Linked DNA regions of Homo sapiens: region 2 is linked to region 1. Evidence: promoter capture Hi-C in human tissues and cell types (Jung and others, 2019). All regions are on one chromosome and are shown on one strand. The core of a region is centred on a gene start or on the middle of the fragment in contact, and the rest is flanking DNA. Distances in the headings are between cores, read along the strand shown. Region 1 holds the start of ACADS (acyl-CoA dehydrogenase short chain). Region 2 holds the start of CLIP1 (CAP-Gly domain containing linker protein 1).

Region 1 (5,416 bases), core at 2,261-4,760:
CAGTGAGCCAAGATCGCACCACTGCACTCCAGCCTGGGGGACAGAGTGAGACTCCATCTCAAAAAAAAAAAAAAAAAGAAAAAAGAAAAAGAGAAGCAGTCAAGGGAAAAAAATGGGTTCGGGTTTGTCCATCGTTTCTGACCTATGTAAATTGATGGTAATTAACTAACAGCAGCCAGGCGCCCGTCCCAGCCCCAATATTTTAGTATTTTCTACAGAGAGGCCTGACCTTCAGAGCTATCTCAAGGGGTGGCCTCCTAGAGCCCCCTGCAATGGTCACTCTTGGTTCCTAGTGTCTGTGACCCAGCAACCCTGACCTGCACCCTGAGAAGAGGCAACAGCACTGATGAGGCTGAGCCTGGTGGTCTCCAGACTCCCAAGAGAAACCGTAAGAAACTGTAAGACCCCTTTCCCAGCAGTGACAGACAAGGCAAGCCTGCAGCACCTGCTGCCTTCATATCTGGGAAACGGTTAGTGGGTCCCTCATATAAAAACAATGTTTTACGTCCCTTTTAAAACTCATTTTTAAGGCCGGGTGTGGTGGCTCACGCCTGTAATCCCAGCACTTTGCGAGGCCGAGGCGGGTGGATTGCCTGAGCTCAGGAGTTTGAGACCAGCCTGGGCAACACGGTGAAACCCCGTCTCTACTAAAATACATAAAATTAGCCGGGTATGGTGGTGTGCGCCTGTAATCCCAGCTACTCGGGAGGCTGAGGCAGGAAACAATTGTTTGAACTCAGAAGGCGGAGGTTGCAGTGAGCCGAGATCGCGCCACTGCACTCCAACCTGGTGACAGAGCAAGACTGTCTCAAAAAATTTTTAAAAATAAAAAATAAATTAAAATTAAAATTAAAAAAAAAAACAGGCAAGGAGAAGAGGCCGGAGAGGTTTGACTTTTCACAAATCATTAATTAAACAACTATCTACTACTGAGTGTTTACACCAGGTGCTGGACATCTTTAGGTCAGCGTGTACGGCAGTAACATCTTCAACGCGTAGCTGCAGACAGACTGAATGCAAATGGAAGAACACAGTGGCACGGGAGGGAGCGCGCTGATGGGAAACTCAGGGGAGAAAACAGTTCAAGCAGGCCGGGCACGGTGGCTCACGCCTGTAATCCCAGCACTTTGGGACGCCAAGGCGGGCAGATCGCCTAAGGTCAGGAGTTTGAGACCAGCCTGCCCAACATGGAGAAACCCCATCTCTACTGAAAGTACAAAAACTAGCTGGGCGTGGTGGTGCCCGCCTGTAATCCCAGCTACTGGGGGCCGAGGCAGGAGAATTGCTTGAACCCAGGAGGCAGAGGGGTGCAGTGCGTTGAGATTGCGCCACTGCCCTCCAGCCTGGGCAACAGAGCGAGAGTCCATTTCAAAAAAAAATAAGTAAATAAAAAAGAAAATAGGTCGAGCAGGCTGCCGCTGATGAGCTCCATGACCTTGGGTATGTTATTTAACTTGTTCACAAGTCTGAGTCCATGGGGTATATAATAATACTACCTTTGGCCGGGCGTGGTGTCTCACACCTGTAATCCCAGCACTTTGGGAGGCCGAGGTGGGCAGATCACCTGAATTCAGGAGTTTGAGACCAGCCTGGCCAACATGGTGAAACGCCGTCTTTACTAAAAATACAAAAGTAGCGGGGCAGAGCAGTGCACGCCTATAATCCCAGCTACTTGGGAGGCTGAGGCAGGAGAATCACTTGAACTCAGGAGGCAGAGGCTGCAGTGAGGCGAGGTCGCACCATTGCACTCCAGCCTGAGCCACAAGAGTGAAACTCCGTCTCAAAAAAATAAATAAGAATAGTACCTTCACCTCACAGGACCGTTGTGAGGAACAGATGAGATAACCCATCTCAAGAACAGTGCCTAGTGCATGCCAAACACCCTAAAGGCACTATTTAGAATGAGCACAGTGGCTGGCACAGTAAGCAACTGACCATCCACCACATATTACTGTTGTCCCAGAAGTTAAGTCCTGGCTACTGGCCACAGGCTGGACAAGGGAAACTTCCAGAGCATTTTCTGGGTTCCAGGCCCTGCTTTGGGGTTCCTCTACCAGAGTCCGAGTGCCGCTGACTGTCACTGCCACCATTCATCCAGTAGCAGAGGGCAGACCACTATCGTGGGCTGCTGAGGTTGCACTCTCACCTGAGCCGCTGGGAAGAGATGTTCCTTATCCACCTGGGCTGCAATGGGAAACAACTCCTTCTCGGCAAAGTCCCGGCATGTCTGGAGCAACATCTGGTGTGTCTCGGGCAGTTCCACAGACTGGTAGATGGTGTGTAACTGCCGCCAGGCCCTAGGACAGAGAGCTGCCGGCAAGGGCAGAAGTGAGTGGAAGGAGGAGGCAGGAGGTCTCCAAGAATCCTAGTGACCCACTAACTCACCAGGGAGGATTTTGCCCTCCAAGGGACATCTGGCAATGTCTGGAGCCAGTTCTAGTTGTCACAACTAGAGCAGGGGAATACTATTGGTACCCAGTGGATAGGGGTCCGGGATCCCTGCTGAACATCCAACAAGGCAGAGGACAGCCCCCACAACAAAGAACTGTCAGCCCAAAATGTCCATGGCGGCCACTGAAAACCCCATACTAACTGAATGCTTAGTACACTCACTAGACATTTCCATACACTACATCCTTCAGTCCTCAGTATAATACCAACAGTAATAAGACCTCAGCTCTGTGACCTTAGGCAAGGGTTTTAAACGTCAGTGAGCCTCCGTTTCTATAACAAGTGGAGGCGAATAGTATTCCGCTCCTCGGAGTGCGAAAGAAAGACTAACTAGCGCTTAACACAGTTCTCAGTAGCGTTCCCCTTGTAATTCAGGCCAGGCAAAGGAAGCCGTGGCTATATGTGTCACGGCTGCTACAACTGGAGACACGTAAGATGGGAAAGGTACTGTATTAACCAGCAAGAACGAGCATTTGTGGAACACCTGTTACACGCCAGGCACGAAGTGCTTTACATACCCTATGATTTAATCCTCCCAACAACTCTGATTTTCTCTGTGGACATTTTACACATGGGCCAACCGAGGCTGAGGAGGGGCTGTCTTGCCCAAGGTCACAGATGCGGGTCTGGTTCAATCCCAGGCCTGGCTCCGGAAGAAGGACGCACCCTGAACCTCTAGTGGGGGTGAAATGAAGGGAGGGAGATATGGGAACTGGGAACTGGGCTGGTGGCTGGGGTCAATCGGGGGGTAGGGGTCTGTGCAGGAACCAGGGACGCCTGAAGGGCCGGGCTGGGTCGGCGCAAGGAGCAGCAGAACTGGGGCAAAGGCCGTGAGCGCTCCCGGAGTGGGGCTCCGCCTGCCAGCGGCTCTGACAGAGCCGGCCGCCAGGACCTCCGCCCGCTGGGCCAGACGCGGGCTGAAGCCCCGCCGTACGGATCCCCAGCGCACTCACCTCTGCGGGCAGGGCCCGAGGCCCGGGCGAGCAGCGCGGCGGCCATGGGCGACAGACACAGTCCCAGGCTTCGCGACCTCCCGCTGCGAGCGCGCTGTTCCGGAGTGCTGGGGGGCGGGACCCGGGACAGAGGCCACGCCCGTAGGGCCTCGGGAGCGGGGCCGAGGTGCGCTCGCGGCCAGGGGGCGGGGCCTCCAGTGGTCCCTCCCAAGGCGAGGAACCGACGCTCGACTGCGCGCGCGGTCGGTCAGCTGGCTGTTCGTGCCCACATTCGTTAATCAAAATGCTAACAAGAGAAAGCTAAGGATAGAGCTTCGCAGAAAGGCCAGAGAGGTCTTTTTAAAGCATAAATAAGATAGCGATCTTCGGGTTAAAACTTTGTTGGCTTTGTCGGCGGGCCCATCCCTCCTAAAATCCAATTCTATGGCTTAAAAAGCCAAGACCTGCCTTGTCTATCAGGGCCCATGCCCACCGTTCCCTGGTTATTGTTGCTTAGCTTTACGAGGCAGCTCTTCTCTAAGACCCTTAGCTGGTTCCTGACTCGGGGCCTCTGTGATCACTGTTCCTTTTGTCTGGAATGCCCCCTCTTCGTTTAGGTCTCATGGATGCCTGCCCTGACCACACCAAGCCGTTTCTCCCCCTCTGGCTCTCTATCTTTCGTTCTGTTTATTCAAGGCACTTTGCATCTGAAATTATCTGCTTCCCCGACTCGCTCCGAGAAGCTCAAGGACCTGTCTTGTGTTGGTGCTCAATATTTAGGCCCCTGGAGTTGGGCTGCAAGGAAAGCTTTCTTTTCCCCAGAGGCTGTGAAGGTGGGTGGAGATGCTACCCCCGTTCCACTTCAGTACTGTGTCTCATTCCCGATTGGGGCAGAACCCAGACACATATTTGACCCCTAGCATCCTCATCAGGACACCTTTGCCCCGCCCAAGAAACTATGCTGATTTTACTTGTCCCATAAGGGTCTTCTCTTGTGCAAGTGTGATTCTGATTCCCATAGCCTCCTGGGCACCACCCACGCCCTCCCAGGCACCCACACATCCCTCCAACTGCCTTTCTTTCCCAGCACTCAGCCAGGCAGGCATCTGTTCCCAGCATTGACCTATTTGCCAAAACTTCTGTCTCTTCCTCTTGGAGGAAAGTGGAAACCTCGGTCACTACTTCCTAGAAGAAAGCCAATCAAAAGATGCAGCAAAGTCCTTAATGTGTTACCTTTCTTTTTAAATAATGCATTTAAAAGAACGCCTCTAAATTCTCAGTACTTTAAAGTCAAATGAATGGCTCCCATTGGCAAATGCTCTAAGGGCTTCCTCACCTTTCCGTCATCCCACCTGGGAACCAGCCCTGGGTGGAAGAAACGATGAAGAAGCAGGAGAAAAGGGAGAAATAAGTGAGTTGTGTTTGTGAGCAAAGGCCAATAATTGCTTCAGGTGCCACAGAGCATCTAAACCAGACTCTTGAGAATTTGTGACTGTAAATATGAACGTTCAAATTTCATTTTAAAAGTATCCAAGTTTTCCAATAGAGACAGAATCAGATAGTGGTTGCAAGAGGCGAAGTGGGGGAAGTCACCTGGCTGCAAACACAAGGAACTCAGGAACTTTCTGAGTGGGTACGATGGAAATGTCCTATATCATGATTGTGATGGGTAATAAAAGTATTCATTTGTCAAAATGCATCAATACTCTTAATTGAGGTAAATTTTACTGTAGTTAAAGTATTTCTTAATAAGCCTACCTTTATGGCCAGCCACAGTGGCTCACACCTGTAATCCCAGAACTTTGGGAGGCCAAGGCGGGTTGATCACCTGAGGTCAGGAGTTCAAGACCAGCCTGGCCAACATGGGGAAACCCTGTCTCTACCAAAAATACAGAATTAGCCGGGCGTGGTGGCATGCACTTGTAATCCCAGCTACTTGGGAGGCTGAGGCAGGACAATCACTTGAACCCGGGAGGCGAAGGGTGCAGTGAGCCACCATCATGCCATCACATCCCAGCCTGGGAAAAAAGAGC
Region 2 (5,429 bases), core at 2,449-4,948, 1.7 Mb before region 1:
AGAACAAAAGAAAAGAAAAGCAACAGTTCTCAGTTCTTCTACCTCACTCCTACCTAGTCTTAACCCTGTTCCCCAGAGACTATTAATTTTTTGCTTTTAGTTCTTCTGGTGTTAACTTCCATCTCTCTAAAAATATTGTTGTGGGCCAGGCACGGTGGCTCACGCCTGTAATCCCAGCACTTTGGGAGGCTGAGGGGGACAGGTTGCCTGAGCCCAGGAGTTTGAGACCAGCCTGGGCAACATGGCAAAACTCCATCTCTACTAAAAATACAAACAATTAGCTGGGCATGGCTGTGCATGCCTGTAGTCCCAGCTACTTAGGAGGCTGAGGTGGGAGGATCATCTGATCCCGGGAAGTAGAGGCTGCAGGGAGTCATGATTGCAGCACTGCGCTCCAGCCTGGGTGACAGGAATGAGACCTCATCTCAAGAAAACAAAAACAAAAATACATAAAAATATACTTGTGTTATTTATCAACTGTAGGCATTATCTATTGACTTTCTGTTATGACTAAGGCACGACTACCTCTCCTCTCCACACAATCCTGCCACTATTTTTAATTATTCCTATTGGTTACGTTAATGATATCATTAAACCTTAATTTTTTGGGGAAAAAAAAACAGAAAACAAAACCCTAGGTATTTACCTACCTCCCCGCTTTGTAAAATGAAGACTTGAGAGCTCTTATTTTGCATTCTACTTCTGCAACATCCCTTCCACCTCCCAATGTCTCATCAATTGAGCTGTTCTCATATTTACAGAAGACATGCATTTAAGAAAGCACTGTGGCAGTCGGGCGCGGTGGCTCATGCCTGTAATCCTAGCACTTTGGGAGGCCGAGGTGGGCGGATCACGAGGTCAGGAGATTGAGACCATCCTGGATAACACAGAGAAACCCCCTCTCTACCCAAAATACAAAAAATTAGCTGGGTATGGTGGTACGTGCCTGTAGTCCCAGCTACTTGGAAGGCTGAGGCAGGAGAATAGCTTGGCCCTGCAAGGCGGAGGTTGAAGTGAGCCGAGATGGTGCCACTGCACTCCAGACTGGGCGACAGAGCGAGACTCAGTCTTAAAAAAAAAAAAAAAAAAAAAGCACAGTGGCTAGATCTAAAAACAGAATGTAAATATTGAAGGAGGAACTTTGAGTCCTAACAGTGGCCACCTGGGGTCTGAGCCCTGTCAATGCCCTGGTAGTAGGGCTGAGACCAGGCCTTGCTCACACAATTGAAGGAGGCAGTGAAGGTAAACAATATTGCGATATGCTAATTTTTTTTTTTTTTTTTTTTGGAGATAGAGTCTCCCTCTGTCGCCCAGGCTGCAGTGCGGTGGTGCTATCTTGGCTTATTGCAACCTCCGCCTCCTGGGTTCAAGCAATTCTTCTGCCTCAGCCTCTCTAGTAGCTGGGATTACAGGCATGCGCCACCATGCCCGGCTAATTTTTGTATTTTTAGTAGATACGGGGTTTCACTATATTGGCCAGGCTGGTCTCGAGCTCCTGACCTCGTGATCAGCCCGCTGTGCCCGGCTGATATATTTTTTAAAAAATAAAAATTAATGGCCGGGCACGGTGGCTCACGTCTGTAATCCCAGCACTTTGGGAGCCCAAAGCAGGCGGATCACGAGGTCAGGAGATCGAGACCATCCTGGCTAACACGGTGAAACCCTGTCTGTACTAAAAAAATACAAAAAATTAGCCGGGCGTGGTGGCGGGCACCTGTAGTCCCAGCTACTCGGGAGGCTGAGGCAGGAGAATGGCGTGAACCCGGGAGGCAGAGCTTGCGGTGAGCCGAGATCGCACCACTGCACTCCAGCCTGGGCGACAGAGTGAGACTCCATCTCAAAAAAAAAAAAAAAAAAAAAAATTAACGCCAAGACTCCATGATGAACAAAATGATATAATTATAAATAAATAAGCAAATGATGAACATGACAATGACATAGAATAACCCATGAGAACAAGCAAATATACACACACACACACACACACATATATATACATATATATATACATGTGTATATATATATATATTTTTTGAGACAGAGTCTCCCTCCGGCACCCAGGCTGGAGTGTAGTGGCTTGAACTCTGGTCACAGCAACCTCCGCCTCCCGGGTTCAAACAATTCTCGTGTCTCAGCCTCCCGAGTAGCTGGGACTACAGGCATGCACCACCATGCCCAGTTAATTTTTGTATTTTTTGTTAGAGACGGGGTTTCACCATGTTGGCCAAGCTGGTCTTGAACTCCTGTCTGCAGGTGATCCACCCACCTGGGTCTCTCAAAGTGCTAGAATTACAGGCGTGAGCCACCACACCCAGCCCCAAAACAATATTTTTAATAAAGACAGGCTCAGCCTACTGAGTAGAGAAGAAAAGACAAGCCCATAAGTGTTCCTAGCTGAACTCCCCCATTAGAAGTGGTCTGTGCCTCATCCTATGACATCTATGATTCCACAGCTTGCTGATTACAGCTGAAGACTGTTTAGATTAGGGGGTGAGGCGCGCCTTTCAGATTAGGAATATGGATATGGGATTTCAGGAGTACCACCACCACCTGACCTTGCAGCCTGTAAATTAGGGCGATGTTGAATTAGGTAACAGCATTTCGAGGGATTTCAGACATGAATGGAGAGGAGGGGCCAGGAGACAAATTTACATAGTTCAGAACTTCGTGCATTACCAGAGCAGTTCCCTCTTCCTGCTGGTCCAGGCAGCACGGTGCTTTGAATAAAGGTCAGCTAGAGGGGTCACCCGCCGATTATTCTCTTCTACTGGCAAGGAGGAGGAAGCCCCTGCCCCCTTATCCACCACAAAATCCTGGGCTTCCCCGACAGCTGCAAATTCCTCCCTGGAGATGTAAGGCTTCTGGGGTTGCCATGGTCCATGGGAGTGAAATGCTGGCCGCCCTCTGCTACCCCAGCCCCGAGCAGGCTGTTGCAGCCTTCCCTCCTGTCCCTTTCAAAAGCTTTTAAAGGAAATCCCAGGGGGGAAGGAGGATGGGACACTAACCAGGGCTTCCGTCCAAGCAGCCAGGGCGAATAAAAGGGGCTTTTCTCAAACGAACGGAGCAAACCCTGGGATCGTTTCAAAGGATTTTTAACCCGCGGTCGTTCCCGGAGGGAAGTGGGGAGCAGATACAGTTCTTCCCAAGCTTAACCTGCTCTACAGTTCCTTTCAGCATTTTCTCCAGGGACGCCTCATCCAGGGTCTTTCCCTGGAGGGAGGCGAGGGCAGAGATGATCCTTCCCAATCCCCAACTTAACCTGCTTCGGAAGCGCCTTGCAGCCTGTTTCAAAGGATTTCTCACCCTTGTCTGGCGGGAAGGGGAGGGCAAACAAATGAATCAGCCCCAAAGAGCGGGCTGAGGTCGAGGCTGAATGGGGCTCTTGGGTGTGACTTGCAAATTCTGGGAACACTTTGCAGAAATGACGAGAAGCCCCTCGGAGCAGGCCTGTGGGTTTTCCCTCGCACCTTGCTCCCCAAGCCGGGGCTCGGGAGGGTTCGAGGGCGGAGCGGCGGGCGCGCCGGGGCCAGGGTCCTCCCGGGGCCGCGGTGGGCGCAGACAAAGAGGCGGCGGGGCGGCGCGGGGCCGGGCGCGGGCCGCAGGGCCGGTGCGGACTCGAGGGGCCGGGCCGGCCGGGCCGGCCGGGCGGGCGCGGCGGCGGAGCGCTGGGAGGAGCCGCGCGGCGTCTTCTCCTGGCAGCGCGCGCCCGCCCGGCCCCGCGGCGGCGGCGGCGCGTCACGCTCTCCCCCGCCCCGAGCCGACGAGCCGGGAGGCGGGAGGCGGCGGCCGCGGCGGCTGCTGCTGCTGCAGTGGGACAGGTGGCGGCGACCGGCGGCGTCCGAGGAGGTGAGCAGGGGGCGGCGCGGGCCCTCTCCCTTTCCCGGCACCCCCTGCTCCCCTGCCGGCTTCCCGGCCTGCGGGGCCCGCCCAGGGTCGGGTCGGGGGTCGAAGCCCGGCGTCCGGGAGCGGGGCCGAGCCTCGCGCGCCGGAGCCGTCCGGGAGGGGACCGCGGGAGTCTCGGGTGGCCGGCGCCGGAGGCCGGGGGTCCCTGGGGGGCTCCTCCGGAGCTGGAAAAGTGGCGGCCCTGTCAGCGCCGAGCCGGGCCTTCGCTTCCTCCGCCCGCCTCAAGATGGAGCTTGGACTCCTTGCCCCTGCGCCGCCCCAGGCGCCGCTCTCTCCCTGGCGCCCCGCTCCCTCTCCTGGGCCCCGGGGCGGATGTGGGATCGGCCGGACCCCGGGAGGCCGAAGCCGGGCGGGACCTGTTGCCCCGGGCGCCGCGCCTGTCACCTGAGCATTCCTCAGGCCCCGGGTGCCCGGCGCCCGCGATCCGGCATGGAGGGCACCCTGGCCCGGCCTCCCCCGCTGCCCCGGCTTTTGTTTTCCTCTCAAGTGGGGCTGTGATTCTCGGAGACCGGGGAAGGCTGGAGGTGGCCAGATCGCTCTCGGGTTTCCGAAATCACACCGCTGCCCGGTAATCCGAACCTTCTACCGCGGCAGGGGATTGGCGCGGAAGGCAGATGACACTTGTTCAGAGGTTATTTTACAAGCAGAACCTAGCGATTGCCCGAATTGGAAGGTCCTGCCTTTCAAAAATCGGGTTTTGATTCGGGGGTGAATCCTGAATCCGGCTGTTTCTCCACTTCATGTGGCTTTTCCATCTGGCAGGAGCCGAGCGCCACCCCCTCCTCCCTGCACAGCCCCACCTCTTTGGTATGAAGAAATTACACGTTGTCCGTCATCGGTTTAGATACCTGTTTTTAGCAAAACTTGGGCGCCAGTGAACTGTTTTTTAAAACAAAGGGTGGAGAAGATTCTGTAATTGTGTGTGTGTGATTCAGCAGCCTGGCCTTCTTCCTCTTTTAGGACAGTGGCCCCTAGCAGCTCTATAAGTATTAAGTGCTGTGGCCACTGCTGTCATTAGGGTTATGATTCTGGCTGTTCTTATTATTTGATTTGTGTCACTACTGTTAGCGATGGTATCCACGAATCAGGAGAGTATCCCAGAGTCAGGAATGTGTTTGTTTGACTTTTAGATTTAATGATAACCTTTAGCAAGAATCCCCAGGCATGTCGCTTCTCAGACTTGGGGCCTTTTTTTCTCTGTAAATTATAACAATGAACATTTATTGAAGGCATCTTGTGGCCAGGCTCTGGGCTAGCTTTTTATGTGTTTTATTTCATTTAATCAACCCTAACCCAGTGAGCGTGCTGTCGTCATGTGCATTCGGCAGGAGGGTCATAGAAAGGTCAAGTAACTTGACCAGGGTTATACAGCTAAGCACCTGAAGTCAGAATACCTTTTACCAGCATGTGAACTCAGGTATTCTGACTTCAGGTGCTTAGTTATTCGATTAGTATAGGGAATCTGTGGCAAAAAGCAAGGCTAGTCTGTCTGTCTGTCTATCCATCCATCAATCAATCAATCAATC

What was found. Contacts are between HindIII fragments. The study calls those that stand out against the background at their distance.
Region 2: the fragment with the promoter of CLIP1 here is called in contact with the fragment with the promoter of ACADS in region 1 in 1 of the 25 tissues and cell types used here (aorta).

The regions. Positions count from the first base shown.
Region 1 is chr12:120,723,920-120,729,335 of GRCh38, reverse strand. It overlaps ACADS (acyl-CoA dehydrogenase short chain), which reads right to left and starts at 3,510. Exons shown (of 10, transcript NM_000017.4): 1 at 3,405-3,510; 2 at 2,147-2,310. The coding sequence starts at 3,450. RefSeq lists a silencer at 3,191-3,700 and an enhancer at 3,337-3,838. The HindIII fragment of the contact is 31,377 bases long and covers 1-5,416 here.
Region 2 is chr12:122,420,938-122,426,366 of GRCh38, reverse strand. CLIP1 (CAP-Gly domain containing linker protein 1) reads left to right here and starts at 3,698. Exons shown (of 26, transcript NM_001247997.2): 1 at 3,698-3,846. RefSeq lists an enhancer at 2,423-2,522 and silencers at 3,632-3,981, 4,002-4,401. The HindIII fragment of the contact is 23,258 bases long and covers 1-5,429 here.